2 separate regions of the Homo sapiens genome follow, and region 2 is linked to region 1. The links are contacts of gene promoters, found by promoter capture Hi-C in blood cells and fetal thymus (Javierre and others, 2016). All regions are on one chromosome and are shown on one strand. Each heading gives the region's core, a stretch centred on a gene start or on the middle of the fragment in contact. The rest is flanking DNA. Distances are from core to core; before and after follow the strand shown. Region 1 holds the start of LNCSRLR (lncRNA sorafenib resistance in renal cell carcinoma associated). Region 2 has its middle 47 kb from the start of SLC9A9.

Region 1 (3,235 bases), core at 204-2,703:
TTCCTTCTAGTCTTTTTTTCTTTAAACAATCAATATACAAATATATTTCTATAATATTTCAAAAACACAAGTGTAAAACGTAAAAGGCATAAATCCTATTTACTCCTCCGTGATCTCATACCACTCTCCAGAGTTGTTCCTCTCTAGGAAATTTTCTGTAGGTTTATGCACACATATATAGTATTTTGTTTTTAACATAAATGGTATCATACTCTAAATAGTGTGACTTTATCAGGTTCATCTGTCAGAGATATCTGATTGTTGCAGATACACAATAAGCCCTTGGACTACATGTGCTTAAACTACGCGGGCTCATGTGTATGCCGGTTTTTTCTGTCTCTGCCACCCCTGAGACACCCTTCCTCTTCCCCTTCCTTCTCAGCCTACTCAGCGCGAAGACAACAAGGATGAAAACCTTTATGATGATCCACTTCCACTTAATGAATAGTAAATATATTTTATCTTTCTTTATAATTTTTTAAATAACGTTTTCTCTAGCTTATTGTAACAATACAGTGTATAATGCATATAACATATAAAATAAATGTTCATCAGCTGTTTATGTTATCAGTGAGGCTTCCAGTCAACAGTAGGTTATTAGTTGATAAGTGTTGAGGGAGTCAAAAGGTACATGTGGATTTTCGACTGCATGGGGATCAGTGCCTCTAACGCCCATATTATTCAGGGGATAATTGTTTATATATATGGGTGTGTGTGTGTATTTTTTTTAAAAAGCCTTTATTATATTGCATAAAATGAATGAATCAAACAATAGATGTACTTTCTGTATCTTCTGCTCTGTGTGTTTCAAGCTGTATTTTTCTCCATCCTTCCAATTCTACTCGTTTTCCGTTTTTCAAATTTTTTAATCTACTTATGGGAATTTTTCTAATTTTCTCTCAGTAATTATGAATCATCTTTTTAAAGCTACATTTTATATTATTTCATGGAATGTAGGATAAGAGGAAAGACAAAAAAACTGTGCTCAATAGACTACCTGGATCCCATTTCTGAAAACATGGCATGAGACTGAAATAGTTATGCTAAGTAACCACCCATGGATACCAAAATGGAAAATAACTAGTACCTGGGAGATGTCTTTGAACTGTACCACAAGAGATATTAAGCTGGCTTGCACTGGTAGGAACGAACCGATCTGCTTTTATAACCAGAGTCTGTTCCGATGAGTTGGCATCTACATCATACCAGGTGTTACATATTTTGAAAACCATTCCTGATGTACAGTAACATAATTCACAAATCATTACTAAAATGTCTCCTTATCCTAGTTGATGGATAGTAGAAATTTTCTTTGGGTATTAAGTGTCGCCAAAGAAGAGAACAGGAGTAGAACCAACTTCCTTATCTTTTTAAGTCCATCTCACAGTGACTATAATGTCTTCTTCATCAACATATCCTTGGTGCCTGGAACAGTGCCTGACCCATAATAGAGACCCAGAAAATATTAATAAACAAATAAACCTATATTGAATAACATTTGGCTTCTATTTTCTCACTTGGAAAACGAGTTAGATCAAATCCCTAGTCATCCTAAAATTGAAGATTTTATAATTTCATTTATAATTCAATAGTTTCGTATATCATTAAATCTACTAAGCAAAATGAAAAATCAAAGGCTTCATTCTTTCAGACAATTCCATCATGTATTCACGTTGGAAGATAAACACCAATAATAGAACAACAAAACTTTCTAAAATTATTTTATTTTTTATAATTTTCTAACACATGGTGTTAGAAAATGAATTTTGGCACCGTGATTAAGAATTTCTTTTCAAGTTTAACCTTTACATTAAAAACAGTAGCTACAATAAGGATATTTCAACCTTACTTAGAGAAGTGATAAAACATCAAGTCAACAAGTATTTTTGTTGGAGAATTTTTTTATAAGCGGGATAGAGGGAAGTTAACATAGACACTCAGAAGAATAAAATGGAAATTATGCCAGGAAGATAAAAAAGCAAATAACCCTCCCCCCAAAAAAAGAATAAGGAGCGAGACAAAGGGCAAAACGGAAGAAGCAAGGCTCAACAACTTTGTTTTCCTGATATAAAATTCAAGTACTTAAAAAGTTTTTTAAAAAATAATTAAATGCACTACTCATCTCAATGAAATTTTTCGTTTTCCTATTTTCTAGAACTTTCTAAAAAAGGAAACAAAGCAAAAACAACAACAAAAAAAACCTGTTTGACTTAAGGACACTTGCTGATCTTGACACTTGATAATACTTTAAGAAATGGAAAGGTTTTCCTAAATCTAATACCTGCTTAATATAATCCACTTTGGAAGATTCATCTGAAAGAAACATAGGGTTTGATTTTTAATACTAATATAAAATAATCTGCCTTCCAATCAAAACAAAAATGTTTTCAACTGTATACGCTCCTCGGTTGTGTTTTGTACCATTTTCTTGAGGAAAACGTTGTGTAATTCTTTGTGTGTTCCCTTAGTAACTACTGTAAATAAGACCTGCATAGGTGTTCAGAAAAATACTTAGTTGCATACAAATCCAGTTAGAATCTGATTTTCAAGGTTTTACAACATGGTAATTTTCATTTATATCCATTTTGTCTACATTTCCTCTATATTTTGATAAATAAAAATCTTCCCATGCTTTTTTTAAATAAGAAAATATTATTAGTCTTGTTATTTGTACCTAAATATTTTATCAATTTGAAACACAAATTCATAAATTGTCATTATTCTCAGAGGCAACAAAGCATAGAAATAAATATTTAAGTTTTTTCTTTCTTTTCTTCTTCAATCTGTGTTTTAAGGCTCAGAGCAGACATTAAGAAATATCAAACAATTTTTTATAAAAAGTTTTTCAAATGTTTGGCCCAAAGTGAAGTTGTTCTGTTGATGTTATTTAAATATTCCTCTCATCTTCTCAGCCACAACTTCAAAGACGTGTTCATGCCAGTCATTCATCCAAAATAAATTTCAATTCAATGAAAAGTAAATAACTTAGGGATCTATAAATGACACTGCAATGTATCTTGTTCCATTTTTAACAGGAAGTCCTTCATGCAAATGTGTGAGTCTCCCAGGATGCATGAAGCTCCAGCCTTTTCGTGGTGACTCAATAGAGCAATTGTACCTTAGAAATTTGCAACCACCTCCCTAAAAAAGTTAAAATGAAGAAATACATCAGATTATATTTAACCAGTGGCAAAATTCAAATTATGTCATTTGAGCAAAATTTAAAAAAGAAACT
Region 2 (3,235 bases), core at 213-2,712, 2.2 Mb before region 1:
ATAAGGATGTTGTAAGAGGTAGAAAGAGCTCTTTTTGTCACTCCTTCAGCCCAGATGAGTGGACATCATGAGATGCCCTGACTGCTCCTAAGCTGCTTTGTCCTGAGAGTAGACAATGTTATTCACATATTTCCCCAAAGCTCAACTGAAACCAGCTAGAGTGCTTAATGCAACTGAAGGCTTGGAGCTTACAGAGGGAAATAAAAATATAGGAAAGGAAAAAGCAAATATCTTTATATTTCAACTCTTTCCTTCCCTTGGTCAGGTCTGCTGCCCATTTGTCTCTTTAGCCCAAGGGGATGACATGTTTTAGAGATCAGCTTACTGCCTGTAGCTGTAAGTGTCTTTGACCATGTCACAAGGGAGGGGAACATTATATCCTTATCCCAACCTATCTCTAGCGTGATGCCCCTTGAATGCCATGATAATCTCTGCAAAAATGCCACTCTGACAAAAATGAAGAGACTCTACTGCACTTGCTAATGTAGCTCAGCTTAGCTTTTTTGTGTCCTGGCTTGGACATTCTGAAATTTAATTTGTCTTTACCTTTGCTTAACAAAAGGGCCATTAATATATTTTTCACAAAATTAAATTTAGGCTACTTCTTAGCTAAAACAACAAATAATTGTCTACATCTCTAGCAGTCACTCCTTCAGAATCACTGGGGTTCAGTCCTTGAAGCCTCTTACTACATATTTAACCAGTATTTAAGGAGCTCCTTTTAGGGCCAGACCCTGGGCTAAGCACTAAGAATATCAGTCAGAAGCAGGTGTGGCCCAGATTACCTTCCAGCTTGGAGAAAGCAGCAGGTAGATAAATAGGTTCAAGAAACTGGCAAAGGGGTGACCATACAAGTATGTACAGGTTATAGTTGTAGCATGAGGAAATGGTTCTTTTCAACGGGTTGGAAGCAAAGGATTATAAAAGCTTCAAAACGGAGGAAGTTACAAGCAGTTGGCATGGTAAATAACAGGCAAAGGGTATTCCTGTTAGAAGAGCATATGCAGATATTGTCAGAAAACCCCAAGCAGCTAGGAATGTCTGAGTATAGAAAGGTGGGGAAGTGTCTACCAAGAGATAGAACGAAAACCCTAAGATGTTTCCAGATCAGAACGGGCCTTTTATGTTGTACCAAGAAGTTTTGACCTCAAAAGAACTGAGATGAAATATTTGAATCATAAGAGAGCTATGATTTTATCCCTGCTATTTGAAGAATTGATAAGGTCAAGGCACCAATTCCTAGACTGTCATGGTGGTCCAGGTGAAAAATTACAACTTCACGGAGCAGCCCCAGAGCATTTCAGAAGCCGAAATAAATGGATACGGAACATGTTAAGAATTGGGGATCAACAGAATTTGATGACTGGTGGTCCAAGTGAAGCAGAAGGAGATGTGAATATGGTAACATCCTGGGTTTGTGGGGAGCGGAGGGCTTTTTTGTAGTATTTTTCTGAGAGAGGAAACATAGAGAAGCTATGCATGGAGTGGGGTTTGTGGGGAGCTTTAGGTAAAATTAGAGCAGTTCAGGTTCTAAAAGTTTTATCATTTCCATGTCTTATGCACCTGAATCCCTCTGGGCATGCCACATTTTCTGCCTAAGGAACCCTCAAAACCTTCACAAGGGCTTGGGAGTTGGGACAGGGAATTGTTCCAGCCTTTACCTTTCCACTTCAGGCAGGACAACACCCATGCATTTATTGCTCCAATTCCAGATTCTCTTGCTTGTTGTCTTCACTGGCCCACCTCACCACAAGAGACTGACTGGAAATCCAGTTTCCATCCTTTACATCCACACACTCCCAATATATCACCAGGAAAATCCCAGTAAAGAGCGAATATGCAGTACTGAACTTTGGAATAAATCAAGTCACATAGTAGAGAAAGTGTAAGTGATATGGATCCATCTGACTGTGAACCTCTGGTTTTCACTTTGGGGTCAATTACCACCTCCGCAGATATGTCAAGACAGGCAGATAACAGCTAGAACCTATTGTTACTCAAGCTTGGAGATCAAAAGAAAATAAGCAGAGAAAAACATATCAAAGAAAACCCCAAAATCTCCCCTGCTGTGGAAATTTTCTTGTGGAGAGGTTAAAAATTTCCTCTGTCGGCCGGGCGCGGTGGCTCACGCCTGTAGTAATCCCAGCACTTTGGGAGGCCGAGGCGGGCGGATCACGAGGTCAGGAGATTGAGATCATCCTGGCTAACACGGTGAAACTCTACTAAAAAGACAAAAATTAGCTGGGCGTGGCGGCGGGCGCCTATAGTCCCAGCTACTCGGGAGGCTGAGGCAGGAGAATGGCGTGAACTCGGGAGGCGGAGCTTGCAGTGAGCCGAGATCGTGCCACTGCACTCCAGCCTGGGCCACAGAGCGAGATTCCATCTCAAAAAAAAAAAAAAAAAAAAATTCCTTTGTCTTGGGGTAAAATGTATTCAGAAATTTTATCTTACAGCTTGCAGAGTCATCGCTATTTCTCTTTTGTGTTTTTTTTTTTTTTTTAACTTTTAAGTTCAGGTGTACCTGTGCATTTCTTTAACAATACAGTTCATCTGAGTTGGTTTAGACATTCTAATTAAAAAAAAAAAAAAAAAGTTCCAGCAGGGGTCTCTCTTTGCACATGGTACAAAAAATTCTTAACAGTCACAGTGCAATATTTTTTATTTTGCTTATCCATCTTACAATGTAAATGAATGTGACTGCAAAATATGTCAAACTCTTTTCTTATATTATTAGAAAATCACTGAAAAGACATTAAGTTTCATATTATGATCTGGGAGGTGATTAAACATGTGTGTTCCCTATGTGATAATTCAACAAGTAGCAAATTTATAATTTAGGTACTTTTATGTTTACACATTATGCTTTTAAAAAGCTTGTTTTTAAGGGTACAATTCCTAATTTTACTCCTAATCATGTTTCTTTGATTTTTTATTTCACTTCTCATGTATCTAGAACATTTAGAATTTTGGTCATTTATGTATTTCATTGAATTTTATACATATTTTACAAATGATGCTTGGTGTGTATGTTTGTAGAGAAATAGAAAAAAATTCAAAAACATAGCTGCAATATTTTTTAAAAACCCATATTTTAAACTGAGGATTATCCAGTAAAAAGGTTTGTATTGGTTTTTGAATCATGAACTCTCAGAAAGAGGCAGTCATTGTTGGCACCCAAGCTTATGGGATGGATCCCAAAGGTCAGATAGATGATGGTTCTGTGATGTGATCTGTG

The links. Contacts are between HindIII fragments. The CHiCAGO score rates a contact against its expected background, and 5 or more counts as called.
Region 2: a contact is called between a fragment that was not itself captured here and the fragment with the promoter of LNCSRLR in region 1, in 3 of 17 cell types (megakaryocytes, M2 macrophages and naive B cells). The highest score is 7.5, in megakaryocytes.

Annotation. Positions count from the first base shown.
Region 1 is chr3:146,067,732-146,070,966 of GRCh38, forward strand. It overlaps LNCSRLR (lncRNA sorafenib resistance in renal cell carcinoma associated), which reads right to left and starts at 1,454. Exons shown (of 2, transcript NR_146297.1): 1 at 1,088-1,454. It overlaps PLOD2 (procollagen-lysine,2-oxoglutarate 5-dioxygenase 2), which reads right to left. Exons shown (of 20, transcript NM_182943.3): 20 at 1,709-3,141. The coding sequence ends at 2,986. The HindIII fragment of the contact is 7,145 bases long and covers 1-3,235 here.
Region 2 is chr3:143,893,390-143,896,624 of GRCh38, forward strand. No RefSeq gene overlaps it. Among named protein-coding and RNA genes, the nearest start is that of SLC9A9, 47 kb to the left of the region's middle. The HindIII fragment of the contact is 1,075 bases long and covers 926-2,000 here.